Regions from separate parts of the Homo sapiens genome. Here region 2 is linked to region 1. Evidence: promoter capture Hi-C in 16 types of primary human blood cells and fetal thymus (Javierre and others, 2016). All regions are on one chromosome and are shown on one strand. The core of a region is centred on a gene start or on the middle of the fragment in contact, and the rest is flanking DNA. Distances in the headings are between cores, read along the strand shown. Region 1 holds the start of MIR1915HG (MIR1915 host gene). Region 2 overlaps PIP4K2A (phosphatidylinositol-5-phosphate 4-kinase type 2 alpha).

Region 1 (7,709 bases), core at 3,471-5,970:
ATTCTGAACATTTGGAACAACTATAGCTCATTTTTCATTATGCGTTGATGTTTTGGTATAAAAATACTGTTTAAGCAGTTCATGAATACTCTTTTCCATTTAATCACAAAGAAATACATTCAGAGTGAACATGATCGTTTTATTGGTTACCAAAGATCCTTGGCAAAGTGCACGCATGGTGAAGAACAAAAGTAAGTCCTCAACAGTTTCCCAACTTCAATGAAAACTTAATGGGCCTAGATTTACAGATTACACATTAAAAAAAGTTTGTGCATGATGTATCTGCTGTGTGTGTATTCATATGTGGGAAATAAAGCAAGCCACAGAGAAAATGGGTGGGGGGCACAACTGCAAAAAGTTATCTCTCCTAGGAGATTTATTATTGGGAAATGCAGAAACAGAGAATTCAGCACTCTTCTTTCTGGTGACAATACAATGCTAGAAAAAAAACTAATTTTTTTAAATAATTTACCATAGAATCTCTTGTCTTAGACTAGAAGGAATACAATCCCTGTTACATGTGTATATATGTCCAGGTGTAACACACATTTTTCTCTTCTGAAATTCTTGTCTCAAATCTCTTTCAATCAAAATGAGTTGAGCTTCAAACAGGATCTGGGTGAGTCAGAACCTTTTTAAAATTGTGCTCAACCCAGTGAATGCTTTAAAACTGAATTAATGAGTAGTATCCTAAAATGCAAAAGCATGCTCCAAGACTGACTGCCTCTCTACATTTTGATTCTGAAAGAAAGTGCTTGGACTTTTAAAGAACAAAGAAGAAAAGCCTTCATTTTCCTTCCCTCCCTTCCTCTCTACAATTTAACCAAGCAATTTTTTCTAGGTTCTTTTGTTTTAATATAAGAACAATAAGGCCGGGTGGTTGCTCACGCCTGTAATCCCAGCACCTAGGGAGGCTGAGGTGGGCGGATCACAAGGTCAGGAGTTCGAGACCATCCTGGCTAACATGGTGAAACCCCATCTCTACTAAAAGTAAAAAAAAAAATTAGCTGGTCATGGTGGCGGCTGCCTGTAGTCCCAGCTACTCAGGAGGCTGAGGTAGGAGAATTGCTTGAACCGGGGAGGTGGAGGTTGCAGTTAGCCAAGATGGCGCCACTGTACTCCAGCCTGGACAACAGGGCGAGACTCCATCTCAAAAAAAAAAAAAAAAAAAAAAGAACAATAAAGCTCTTCTGTCTTTCTTCTCTCTTCTTCTCCTCTTTCTATCTCCAGGACCACAAATTTGACTAAAAATAATTGTCCATATGGAATCCTTAATGTATCAACATAGGAAGGAGACACCCACTATCCCAAGACTCAGCCCACCTGGCCTAGATGGGCCTAGATTTAGAGTAAGCATTACAGGCTGATTAAGTTTGGTGCATGGTTTATCGGGTGAGCGTTCCCCACCCCACTTCTTGCAACTTTGCTTGCTCATCTAGGGGTTCCCGGAGGGCCCCCAACACCCCCTAGCAGGGCGCGAGGTAAGTGGAGAGTTTGCCCGGGTGCTGGGTGATGTGCCCAGCAACTTCTGCTTTTTCCCCTGGGGAAAACTGTGACATTCGAAAGGTGTCTGCAAGTGTTTCTTCTGGTTGGCCTGGAAGTTTCCCGAGTCCCTGGACTGGCGACCCAAACTCCTACACTTCCTGCCCGGTGCTGGGAAGAAACCCAGATCAGCAGACAAATCAACCACACCCTGAGCCCCAACATCGAGCTCCAACATGTGCCTTTCCCGCCGAACGAGAAAGCGCGGACCCCTTGCAAGCAGCATATAGCCTCGGCGTGACCCGTGGAGAGGCGGGACCCCAGTGGAGAGAGAAGCACGGAGAAGCCTGGGAAGGAGCTTGGTAAGAGGGGCACAGTCCAGGCTGCCCCATGCGCGCTGGGGTTGTCGCCGCGCCTCCTGCGCGCCCCAGTGCCCCCAGAATCTCCAAGAAAGCAATCGTGAGCGCGGATCAGTTTCTGTCTTTCCCAGAAAGCGGGCTTTTTATTGAGGGGAAACTTAGCTGGGAAAAGTCAGCTCGTACGTTTGTTTTGGTTTTTCGTCTATTTGCTTCCCAATTTAAAAGTGGCCGCCTAGGCGACAGGCCTGCGGTTTTCACAGTGTAAAACGGATCAGAGGGAAAGCTCCAGCCCCTCTCGACTTTCGCTTGCGGTTTGCAACCCCTGGGGTGGGTCTGACCCCGCGCGGCACTTGCCCAGGCGAGCTTCCCTCGTCGCGGCCCGACCCGCGCGCGGACTCGGCTTCCCCAGGTCAGGACCCACTAGGTGGGCCGCTCGGCCCCAAGCCTGGCAGGGCGGAGCCTAGGCCGCGCGCCCCGGGGTTGGAGGTTCCCACGGAGCCGGGAAACTGCGCGCCCCAGGTCCGCAGGCCGCCTCCCTTCCCTCGCGCCCTCGCACCCGCCCTCTGCTCTGCCGCTCCCGGTCCTGGGTGTGCGGGAGTCCCGGGGGTCCCTCTCCTGGACGCAGAGGAGGAATTTGGAGCAAAAGGAAGGGAATTTACTGCGGATGGCACCGGAACCTGAATTGACTTGTGCGTTTCCTGCTCTGGGCACGTAGGTTTCCCCTAGGAATCTGGAGTTCGCTGAGGACACTTAATTCCAAGAGATGATGGGTTCACATAAACATACCATTTAGTTAAGAAAAATATTTAAAATAAAGAAAAAAGAAAAACTGAACTTCGATCTTCTTCTCCACGTTCCCTGGTGTCACCAAATAAACAAAGCATTCGGACGAGAGTGGGCTGCTGGGGGCTCGGGAGGTGCGCGAGACAAGGTTACCCTGCGGGTCCGCCACTGCCCCCGGCCTCCAGCACTGCACTGCCCACGAGTTTGCGGGGTGTGAGCGCCGAAGGAGAACCCCGGACCGCCCAGTCTCAGCCTAAAAACTTGGATCCAAGAGTCCTACGGTTGTGGATGTGCCAGTCCTCCGCGACCCTTTCCTGCTGGCCTTCTGCTTTTTATAAACGAAAATAAAAGTTTGATTTAGGCTTAAAGAAATGTCATTCTGGTCGTTCCTCCCTGAAGCGGGACTTACTCAACCTCATATACTCGCCCGGAATTTTCAATCTCGCCTGTCGAAATCGCTAGCTGCGCATCCGCGGAAGAAGTCCTGGATGAGAGGTAGGGTGAAGGGATCAAGCAGATAGCAGCAGGCATCAGCACACTCCGGCCGTTCCGGACGGTCAGGCCCGCCGCTACAGGGAGAAGTGCGGCGGATGGAGCCAGGGCTGCGGGTTGCGCGCGGGCTGGGAACCCGGTGGTGCCACCTTAAGAGTCGGGTCCGCGCAGCGGCTGCGGAGGCGCCCGGCACCTGCAGGGGGCGCTGCTGCCCCGTGGTTTCTCCCGCGCCGCCGCGTGCAGCGGGCCTGGCAGCTCCGGGGCCCCGGTCCCCGGAGGGGGTGGGGACGCTGGGGGAGGAAGGGAGCGAAGTGCAGCCGTTAGGTAACGAACCCGAACCCTCCCGGATTCAGAAGCGGCCTCAGTGAGGCGTTTGCTGGAGGGAGCTTTCCATCATTCGGCCGCGAGAGGAAACGTGGGGAGGCGCCCTCCCCTGCCCCCACCGCCTGCCTTCCTGCCTCCCTCCACCTCCGCTCCCCGACCCCGACCGTGCTTCCCAGACCCTTTGTTCTCGAGGTTGGGAACGGCTGGGTGGGGGTTCCCCGGGGAAGAGGTCCCCCGCGCCGCTCGGAGGGGAAGGGACTGTCGCCTGCCCCGCACCCCAGCCCTCCCCAGTGCCGTCCCCCTTTCCCCCGGCCCCTTCCATCGCGTCCACGCGCTTCCGTTCTCACTCGGACTCCCCCAACTCCCGAGCTCCGGCTCCCCAGCCTGCACGGTCTGCAAGCCCGCCTCCCTTCCCACTTCCCCGCCACCTCTGAGGTCCCCGGGAAGAGGGGAGGAGAGGGAGACGTGTGGGGGAGGAGAAACCACAGAGCCTTCTCGGCGCGGAGCATTCCCAGGGACCCTTCCAGGCCCCGACCCCTGGGACCCGCTGCAGAGGCAGGGCTTTCCCGGCGCCGCCGCAGGTCGCTAGGGCCGCCCCCGCCGCGTCGCCCTGGGGCCCACGGGTGCACGGCCCGGGCAGCAAGGCAAGGTGCGGCCTCTCAGCGCCAGGACCCGAGACCCCCAGCTGGAGAGAAGGGGACACCGTGGTCCGCGCCCTGGGGAGGCTAATTGCACACGAACGCCCCCCTCTTCCCCGCCCCCCACCGTACCCTCTGCAGCGCCACCCGCGTCGCCTCTCCGCCGTGCGCCACCCTGAGGGCTCCCGCGATTGCATCTTCTTGAGCACAGTTACCAATGCGTTCAGCTTCGTTTCTTACTCGGATGGAGACATCGCGGAGGGAAGCGAGGGGACAGGGATGCGGTAGTAGGGGAAAGGTGGGGCGGGAAACCGAGCAGAGAGGTGGGAGACTTGGCTGAGGCAATGGCACCAGGCAGGGCCGCCCGGAGTCCCGAGTCCAGGTCCGCGAGGCAGGCCCCGGTGCAGCCGCGCCCCGGCCGAACCCTACATGTCCTCTGTACTGTGGACACGAGTCCGCGGAGCGCCAGTCACACCCCCGCACCCCTGCAAGCTCCCGCCGTAGAGGGGGCTCGGCACCATCCTGGTCACAAAGTACGTGCCCCCACCCCCCACCCCCAGGTGAAGAGGACGCAGCCCGGCGCCGTCAGCTCCAGGCTGCCTGGAGCCCCCTCCGGCCTCTCGGCGCGACCCTGGTCCTCAATGGCTCGTCGCGAGCTGCGCTAGCTGCTCTCTCGGCAGCGGGTTCCCCAGGACACACCCAGTCCCCACCCCCCGAGAGCTGGCGGCCAGCTCAGGATGCCAGGCGGCCAGGCGGGCGCCCTGCCAAATTCCGCGTTCCTCTCCAGGAGACGGGGAGTTGCGTCCCAGGCTCGGGAAAGCCCGCAGTTCGGGCTTGGGACTCGCTTACAAAGCCCCCCAAGGCGCCAGGGACGCCTCTGCAGGTTGAATTCCTGCTCCGTATCACTTCAATTTTAATTAATCTTTTAAAACACCGCTGTCACGTCGCTTGCAGAAAATTAATCAAACTTGAATCCTTGTTGCATAGCAAGAATTTCGATCCGAGTCTTTTAAAAAGGACTTGACTTTGCAAAGTCACGTCTTTTACAGTTCCCTCATTCCCCCTTTAGCAAGGGAAATACTGCAAAAGTCAAGACATGTTTGTTTGGTTCTTTCTATCTTCAAAATGAAACTTTGCTTATTTCTGATCTTTATTTTCCTGTCTTTGAACAAAAAAAAATAACGAGATAAATTGCCTACCTCGATTAATTCAAAGTATAATTACTTTGAATGATCTTTGTTTAAGAGCCCAGATAAACTAAGATAATCTTAATTTTAATGTGACACGACCCCTATTTTTCCTTGTGAATAATGAGAATAAAGCAGTCATTAATTAATACCAAGATATCTCCATAGAAGATGGTATCTGTTCTCGCTGAGACACTGAAACATCAGTTGTATTAGTAATTGATACTGTATAATTGAACATGAAGATAGCCGTCTATTTTTAACCTCCAAGCTCAGAGTTTATTTGGTGATTATTGAGCTCCTAATAATTAATTTTTTTCCTTCTTACTGCATAAATAATTCTTACGACTCCCAGTTCCCATGCAATGCAGAGGCTTCTCATTAAAACCTACCCCTCAAAATATAAGATTGTGAAGCTATATTGTGCAGCAACTCCTTCTATTTCATTATTTGTAACATATTTCCTCTATTTCATATCTTCCTGGTGCATTTCCTTTGCTGTGATTTTCCTACTAAATCTATGAGAATATAACTATAACATCTTTTACCATAGCTTTGTCTTTCTGTGATCTCTTGGTTCAGTTTAATACACAATACTTAAGACTTCAATTTTTCAAGTTACTAAAATTTGAGGATGAGTTCCACTGAAGAATCAAAAATACTTGTATAGTGAAGTTGCCATGGATTATATTCCCAACCTAACACACAGTCCACTTTAACTCACACTTTTCTGTTGTTAAAAATAGACTTTGCTCAAACACATTCCCTTTTTCCAACTTGAGTTGAAGAGAGTTCTCACAATTTCCTGGGTTAAATGTACATGCTAACACAACCTTTGACATTAAAAAACAAATTCCCCTCCCGCGTTGGAGAGAAGTCTTCCAAACAGTCATGGAAATTTAGACTGTAGCTTTAAGGTATCTAATTATTTCTTAGCCTCAGTTATTTTGGGGCATCAGAATGATCTTCACTTTTTAAGTGGAAATGGTTATGATATTTTTCTCATACATACAAAAAACTCTCTACTTATTTTTCCAATAAAGTGTCTCCCAAGTATGACATGTTGTATACCACACAAATATTCTTAGTACCTCCGCTACCAAATCCATGCATTTTCCCTGTCAGTGCTCTATCTAAAATTCTGGAAAGTATAGAGGGTTTCCACTTTTATTTCCCCCTTAGTACAATTAAAACTTTAGGTCAATATATAACGGAGTGATTCTCTGCACTTGGATTTTATATTTTCCCACTATAATTTGGACTGGAATGGGATTAAAACAGCATCTAGAGTTCTAATCTTGGTTGATGTTTTGGTGTATTCACCGTAATGAGTCCTATTCTCTGGGGTCATGAAGCTCCCAAATGTCAATCAAGCAAACAGATTCAGAAATGCCATTGTTCGACTCCCACGTCACTCGCCTTCCTCTCATTTTATTTAACAATACCGGAGTTCTCTGATCAGTCATTCGGAATATGAGGCATTATCTGGGGAAAATTCACAAAGTGTCTTGATCTTTCTTTGGGAGATACTGTTAAGGGGTTTCCGCAAAGCATAAAGTGCTTGTTTATATTTCTGTCTTTGGACCGCACTGTGGATGGAAAGAACCAATGAATACTGCTTGAAAGGAAATCATACCGTAAATCCGTCAAAAATTAATTCGTCCAGTTGAATGTTACATTTCTATTTTCTGTTTTCGTGTTGGAAGCACCCTGATTTGTCACCAGAGGAGAAGTATGACCAGGTCTGGGTCCAGTTGACATGCCCCCACGTTCAACCCTGTCTATTTTCACCACTTAATACTATTAATGTGTTTAGTCTAAACTAGTTAACTAAGAATTTATTTGGGGGCGAGGAAGAGCCAACCTTTGCCCTGGGAGTTCTACCCAGCCCACTCAGCTACGTCCGGGAGCCTCCGCAACTCGCATTTCCCAGTCGCAACCCTGGGTCATTCCTGCCTCCGTCCCAGCTCCCGGACAATTCCCAAAGCCAAAGGCGTCGAGCGTGTTACTGGCTCCCACCAGCCCAAATTAATAATCAGCTTAACTCGTGGAGGCTTTGAGCCCCAGTGCTCCGTTCCCTGAAGCCTCCCAGTGCGGAGCCCGGCTCCTGCGAGGACATCCTTGGAGGGGGGCCGGGGCGCAGGGACGGATTTCCTGGGAAAAATTGTCGCTGGCGTGTTGCACCTAGAGGGCTGTGGGCAAGGAGGCACGCACCAATGTCCCAGTTCTGGGCTCTCAGATCGGGATTCCTCCAAAATCGCGACAGCCGCTCAGGTGCTGGGTGCTCACGTTGGCAGCACAGAGCGCCAAATGCACGACCCCGCGCGCCGCGCGCGACCTCCACGCACACTTAGAGCCGAGGTGACAAGGGAAGGCGGCGGGGGTGGAGCCGCTCTCTGGTGGAGCATGATCAATCACTTTAAAGGGTTCAAAAGTTCCAAGTT
Region 2 (7,709 bases), core at 2,155-4,654, 1.1 Mb after region 1:
TCTAGTTCCCTACACTGCTTTGCAAACCTCAATTGTGAATGCTACCAGCTAGAAAAACCTCTGTGATCACCTGCAAAAGCTATTCCTAGTAGGAAACCTCACTGAAAAGACCTTTTGTTTAAACTGAAACCCAAATGAGAGTAAAATGTCCCTATCTTATCATAAAAATTGGACTGGTTAAATTCCTGAAGTAATAAAGAATTTGAAATTTATGATCTTTATTCAATATATGGAATAAAATGTAATGATTTTACGTATCTGGCCAAAGACAGAAATTTGCTGACTTCTGTCTTACCTTAATTTTCCATGGGTTAGTTTTTTCTCAGCACATTATAATAGTGGATAATTTAGTGAATGCTGTTTTGCTGACCTAAAGCAAAAATCCACAGAAGCTGAAATCTTAGTAGCCAGAAAATATAACCAAAATACTAGGGAATGGTGAACTCACTCCTAGGGAGCAGTGAACCCACTGGGAACATTTAACTTGCTATGAGTTGTAAAAAGAAAATTTATTATAAACATTTGTGTATATATAATACATTTATTATAGACATTTCTCCCTCATTTTGCAAAGTTTTTGGCTTTTAAAGCACAGCATCACAGGCCTCAGCAAGTCTACTGTAAGTCAACAGTAAGAAACACACTGTGTGACAATACAGGTCATGGTCAAAAATAGTTTGTGTGTCATTAAGACACAACATGAATGTGCGAAGTGAGATGCACACTCAGCTGAGTCAGAGCCTGAAGATAACCAACACACGCGTAAGGCTTTCAGTGTATAAAAGCCTCTCAACGGAATTACTTACGCCCTAGGGTTCAATACAAGGTATCAATGATCTCTAAGGACAGATTTGGCCAGGGGGTTGGGATTAAAAAAGGGAAAACGTATCAGGACAGTTACAAAGTTCAGAGCCCTCATTTTTAGAATTTCTAAACACATGCCGCCTTTTAGCAGAGACCTGTGGTATAAAAATTACAGAATTCTATGAGAGCAAAGGAGATGCAGCACTGTTTGCTTCCCAGAACTGATAAAAAGGAGCTAAAAAGCAACACCTAAAAAATTCCTGCTTAATATTATTTAGTACTTTTATGCTTAAAAATTCCAAATGACTAAGAACTTTTGCAGAATCTCTAAAACCAAAACCAAAACAATGTGTTTACCAAAAGAGTTAAATGCTTTGTTTGTTTGAAGTGGGAATTAACTCACGTGTATGTGTACATATGTGCTTATTTCATGAGGTTCTGTAATTTGATGCATAACTGCTGTCATTCATATGGAGTTGAGCAATATTGGATATTCTAAGGTTTAGTAAAGCCAGAAGTTATATGAACATTTTATTTTAGTGAGATTTTAAAAAACTATCTTTCAGATGACACAAAATTTTTAAAAATCACAAATTTCAAACTATAGTTTGAAACATTAAACAGAATTCAAACTAAAATATCATTGGATTTTTAATGATCATTCTAAACTTTAATTATACAACAAGAGCCAACAGTATGGGTAAATGGCCATTAATAACTGGAAATAGAAAATACATGAACCTAAAATGCACAGAGCCAAAATCTTTATAATATAGAGCCAAGTTTTTATTTTAGTCTGGATGGAAACTTTACTGGGAAGAAGAAATGCACCCAGTCACACTTGAGTGTCTAATGCAAACAGGATTTTGGCACTAGGTTTTAATGCAAAGGATAATACATATCATAGTACTCTGTGATTAAAGGACTTGTATTTCGGAATGAATTTTTTGTTTGATATGCTCATTTGGCAACCTATTTATTATTTTTTAAGTCTAATTGTAAGCCTCAATGTCAAAGACTGCTGCCGGGTGTCCTTTTGATACGCTGTCACTGTGACACTCAGAGCTGAATGCTCCACATAAAAAATACGTAGTAATTATTGTTTTATGTTAGAACTGCTTGTGTTCCTGATTTACTTGTAATTCCAAGCTCACCCAAATGAAAATAAACTTGCAAAAAAGAATAAAACCCCTTTTGCCGTGCTTGCAAAAATCTTCATAAAAATCAGCATCTATGGAACTGAAAACATAATTCACAAGTATTTCTATAAGGGAAGGAATTTTAGGTAATCCTTATGTTGGAGCTAGGATAAAAATAATTTGATGGAGTAACATATTTGGTATCAATTCTGGGGTAATAAGAGATGCTGGAGATTTATAATAAAATCAGTTCTGCTTCTTGGAACATCTAAGCCACAAATTTGATACATCAAAAGGCAAATTAGTGGATACGGATAAAGTTCATACAGAAGTAGCAAAGAAAAAGGGTGGTTTTGCACAAATAGTACATATGCCAACCTCCTTTAACTACATAAGCAGAATGTCTATACAAGTTCATGGTTTGAGAAATGATCTAAGAGGTCATTAATAACTTCTAATTTTCACAGTGAAAACAGTGAGAATGTGCACATCTGTGACTAGCATCCAGATGTGAACATCTTATAATTTTTATTTTGAATCTGTTTATGTATGAATGTGGAAAGAGAATATACCTCAACATACTTGTGAAACAGTGCTGTAAGTAAGCCGCGCAAAACTGGAGAAGCGTTAAGTTATAACTGTTAGGGCTGGCAAGACCTAGCTGTTGGCAATTTTCCCTCAAGCTAATACGTAAAAAGTAAAATTTATTCCTTTTTTAATACTGTCATATTTTATGACAACTCTATGTGGTAATGTCAAAGGTGACGGTTTGGTCTTCCTCCACAAACTGGGATATGACAGCTGAACTGCATACAAGACCTACAAAATAGGACCTACGGGATGGCTTCGTTCCAGTCGTAACAGAAGATTCTGGTGCGCAGATATCTATGGTGATAATCTAAGAAATGTCAAAGGCTGAACACTCAAGGAGTTTGCTAACTCCTCTAGATCTCTGGTTTAATACTACCATGTTAAAGATCATTATTTAATTAAGAATTACACATCTGTAGCAGCTTGGTTTAAATTCAGACCACATACTGAATTTTGGAAGTCTTCTCTCCACCCCAACTTTTTCTAGAACCAACTACGAGTTGTTAGCGTGAAAACATTCCCATACCTAACAGCAGTGCTCCACGTGTGCTTGGGATACTCTGAGTTGATTTCATTCCAGTGAGATAAAAATTAATCTGAGGCAAATGAGAGCTGATGAAGCACCATAAGCCATAAGTCATAAAGCCTTGAGGATTTTAATGCTGTCATCTGAGTGAAAATCTGGAAAGTGCTCACAAGAGTCACTGCATGTGATCCTCTCTTTTTGTCACGTGCCATGCTTACCAGTTACGAGATATTCTAAATGAAGCTTTAAAACTTCATTTCCAGAATACCCCTCATGGTTTATGGGGTTCTTATCTATATTTGCTGAACAGAACATTTTTTTCCCCATCAATCATAGCAATCACCTTAATCTATATCTGGAATAGAGAAGATTTTAGTGATGGTCAGGCCAGGACTTCTCCAAGTGGGGCCGACTGCTGAACCACATCTCTGGAGGAAGGTCCAGGAAAGCTTCATTTGAAACAAGAGATTCTCACCAACACTACAGCATGAGGAGCAATGACGCAAGCAAATCCTTTAATTTTACAAACGAGGACAAAGTCAGATGACCTATACTCAAACCCCATTAATGCAGCCCTGTGCCCCCAGGGCTGGGACTCAGATCCCCTAACCCTCTGTTTGGAGTCCTTCACCCAAATCTCCCTTTTATAAAATGTCTCTGGTCCAGAAGGTAGATGTTACTGGTGCCACCTTTAAGGTCTGAGAAAGAAGCCCTGCTTCTGCCCTAGTGGGAAACTTTCCCCTGCACTTTGGGTAGTAGGATTGGTGTCCCTAACTAACACTGGCTGGCAAAGGGAAATGATTCCCTTCTATCTCGGAAGAAAAGGAATTTTACAGAAGGCGGTTAAAGCATTAGCTGAATTGAGGGCCTAAAAAGCTTGACAACCCCCCTTTAACCGATGATCCGCCCACAGTGGAAAAAGAGGCACTTCTTAGCTGAGCGGCAAATAAAGATTTCCAGAAGGATACGCTGCTGTGCTTTTGTGTCACGTTTGGGGAGCCCGCCGCCCTGGCCACCTCACTTCAATGGCAGCCCAGATGACCAGATAGGGGTAGTAATTAATTATAATTTGTTACAATTTAAAGACCACAAAAGAAATGCTGAAAACTGGTTTCGAAAAGCATTTTTAGACGTAAGGGTATTAATGATTAATCCTCTCGAACCCTCAGTTGGTAATAGGTAAAACGTCGGAGACGGTGACAGTCACTTAATTGCTGGTGCAATTCACAGTGCCTGAGAATCGACAAGGCGGCTTTTTGTAGCCCATTATCAAAGTGTCAACAATGATTATTGCCAATACAGTTACACAAATGCCAATTGCAGGGCAGCTGTTTTCTTTCAAATGGGTTTCAGGAAGAAGGCTGTATGTTAAAAGGGATCTTCTTATTGTGACCCTATGGCTCCATTACACATACTTTACTTTACCTAATAAAATCAGACATGAGTTTTGAGAAGAACTGTGCAGGATGATGAACAAAATGCATATTTGTGTAAATCCCCAGGACTCTCTCTCTCAAGAACATGGGCTTTTTAAAGAGTCAGGTCAAATCCCCCAGAAATCAAGTGAGTCCAGTTATGTTTTCTTTTACTTCCCCAGGTCCCCTGCTGAGTCGCTCGCTAGCAGGCAGCATGCTAAGACTGTCATTTGTAAAAAGCAGCCCGCTCAGCTATAATTACTAATTTGATGTCACACTGGAATTGCAGCGCAGCTGTGAAAAGATCGACCACCAGGGAGGTTCACATTTCTCTGTCTCATTTAGAGGAGGCGAAACTGCTGGAGCCATGAATGGGAGATGCCCTTCCATTAAAAAGGAAAGAATTAAAGAATAAAACAAGTCATAGCAGCTGTCAGAATTTGACAATGGTTATTTTTTTTTAAAGCACTGTTCTGCTCTTAAAAAAAACCTCAAGACATCTGTACATGCATGTTCTGAGACTTGTTGCCATGAAAGTGATTCCATTGTTAGAATATAACTTATTTCCTTCAGTTCCATCTTCATGATTATGCTAATGCAAATCACACTAATTACATGTCAAGCTACAATCTAAGAAATGGGACTTGTCTGCACCTATAACGCTAAATATTTGAAATGACAGTTTCAAACTTGTCATCAACAAGTTAAAAGTATGGAAAACTAGAAGTTATAATGACTCATATGAAAGAAAACCTGGGAAGAATAAGAATTGAGATTACTAATTAAACTATGTCACCAGAGATTCTCTACGCAGTTTTTTTTTTTTTTTTTTTTTTTTTTCTGAGACAGGGTCTTGTTCTGTCACTGAGGCTGGAATGCAGTGGTGTGATCACGGCTCACTGCAGCATCGACATCCTGAGTTCAAGCAATCCTCCCATGTAGCTGGGGCCACAAGTGTGCACCACCATGCCCAGCTAATTTTTTGAATTGTTTGTAGAGTTGGGGGTCTCGCTATGTTTCCCAGGGTGGTCTTGAACTCCCGAGCTCAGGCTATCCTGTAGCCTCAGCCTCCCTAAAGTGCTGGGATTACAGGCGTGAGCCACCATGCCCAGCCCTCTAGAAAGATTGTTCTTTGTACCATAACGATCATTTGGAAAGGAATATAGTTATATATAATAGCAATGAATATAATATTCTTGCAAATCATTTCATTTATAAAAGGCTAAAATGTAGTAAGTGTTTTTAGCCTTCCCCAAATATTTCAAACCAGAGGTACCAGTAGATTGTTTTGATAGCATTTAGTAGACTGTTTTGATAGCATTTTCCCCCCCGATGTCTGATCATAAAAAGGAGTATTTATGATTTGTGAACACAATGAATGGTAGGCTTTTTGGAAGAGTCAAAAATCCTAACTGATCATGGAAAGAAAACCCAAAGGATGGCAGAAAAGGGAAAGCAAAGACTTTTTTTAAAAGTTAAAAAAACAAACAAACAATGTTTTTAAGAGTTCGGCTTGGCCGGGCGCGGTGGCTAATGCCTGTAATCCCAGCACTTTGGGAGGCCGAGGCGGGTGGATCACGAGGTCAGGGGATCGAGACCATCCTGGCTAACACGGTGAAACTCCGTCTCTACTAAAAATACAAAAAAATTAGCCAAGCGTAGTGACAGGCGCTTGTAGTCCCAGCTACTAGGGAGGCTGAGGCAGGAGAATGGCATGAACCCAGGAGGCGGAGCTTGCAGTGAGCTGAGATTGCACCACTGCACTCCAGCCTGGGTGACAGAGCGAGACTCCGTCTCGAAAAAAAACAAAACAGTTTGGCTCTATTAATACATTTCATTTCATCTATTACAGTTTAACAAACGTTTCTAGAGTCTACAAAACACTGCTGTATCAGAGAGAGAAGGCATGGCATGATCTCTACCGAGCCGTGAATGACGACTTTCCCCTGGGTTCGTTCTAGACGTGCTTCTCTTCTCGACACGCTCCTCCTGGGTGACCTCACCCACTTCCCTGTCTCTGCTGACCGTCCTTCCAGGGAGGATTCCCAAGCCCTTTGTTTTCAGCTAAGACACCCTGTGCACCCTCTCATGCCTATTGGATATCTCTGTTCTGACGCCACCCTGACATTTCAAATGCCTCCTCTCTCTCTAGTCTGGGTGATGTATCCCCAGGGAAATCGCTGGGGACGTGGTCGGTGACGGTGGGTGGGAGCCAGATTGCAGCAGGTGATGAAGTGAGGAGGAGAAAAGGAAATGGTGGATGTTTCTTTGGCCATTTGCCCTTTTACTGTGCATGAATGAAGGTACATTTTGATCTCTACCCTACTGTCAAGGCAGGCACACTCTCCATCATTTACCAATTTCTATGACTTTGACATTCCACATCTTCAAGCTATTTCCTTTTCCCCTTCCCAAGTGAGCATTTTTAATATAGAAGGGTGGGTGGGGTAGCTTTATGCAGCCTCTGTCTTCTGGAATAAGAGTTATTAGAAACCTCAACCACAAAAAGAAGGCTAGGGCACTGAATTCTTCCTCAGGGCAACTGTGCAGACAATTCTAATGTTTGCACAGTGTAAGACACGTGATAAAGACTGCATTAAACGTAAAAGTTTTACAAATATGTACATCTGAAAGTATGAGCGAAAATGCTCAAGCTCTTCAAATAGAGGAAATACAAATTGTTTTGCTAACATAGTATGGAAACAAATAATTTATTTCACTACTTTAGAAAAAAAATCAAGTTTTAGAATCAACTGTTTCAGCACCATATTTAACTCTGAAACAATGTTTTTGTCAATGTAGTTAACTTTTTCCTCATTTTCACAATGGGATTAACATGACTTTTTGATAATATGCCCTTAAAGGAAAGGAGAGACATGAACTCACAAACATTTACAAGGCAGTGTGGCATAGTGGTTAGAAATGTGCGCTCTGGGGCTGCTGATCCCAGGCTCAAACCCTGGCGCTGTCACTTCCTAACTGTAGGACCCTGGATGAAGTTACTAAACCTGTCAGTTAAGCAACTTCATCCACTCAAAGTAAGTAACGACAGCACCAATCTCATCTGGTGACTGTTAAGGATTACATGACATAATTCATGTACAATTTAAAACGGTCTGGCATATAGTTTGTACTCAACCAGTGCCAGTTGTGACTTCCTCTAAGCCTACCCCCTAGGGAGATGTTTGAAGGAATGATGGCTACGTGTTCATATTAGATACAGGATAAAAGCAT

The links. The method cuts DNA at HindIII sites, captures the fragments that hold promoters and counts their contacts. A CHiCAGO score of 5 or more calls a contact.
Region 2: a fragment that was not itself captured here is called in contact with the fragment with the promoter of MIR1915HG in region 1 in 1 of 17 cell types (total B cells); the score reaches 6.0 in total B cells.

Annotation. Positions count from the first base shown.
Region 1 is chr10:21,492,540-21,500,248 of GRCh38, forward strand. It overlaps MIR1915HG (MIR1915 host gene), which reads right to left and starts at 4,721. Exons shown (of 2, transcript NR_160800.1): 1 at 4,211-4,721; 2 at 119-3,406. MIR1915 (microRNA 1915) reads right to left here and starts at 4,102; the gene lies at 4,023-4,102. RefSeq lists an enhancer at 1,984-2,777 and silencers at 2,289-2,388, 3,202-3,641, 3,692-3,741, 3,952-4,201. The HindIII fragment of the contact is 8,649 bases long and covers 1-7,709 here.
Region 2 is chr10:22,556,277-22,563,985 of GRCh38, forward strand. All of the region lies in intron 6 of PIP4K2A (phosphatidylinositol-5-phosphate 4-kinase type 2 alpha), which reads right to left. It also overlaps the pseudogene TRP-GGG1-1. Among named protein-coding and RNA genes, the nearest start is that of LINC03027, 120 kb to the left of the region's middle. The HindIII fragment of the contact is 206 bases long and covers 3,302-3,507 here.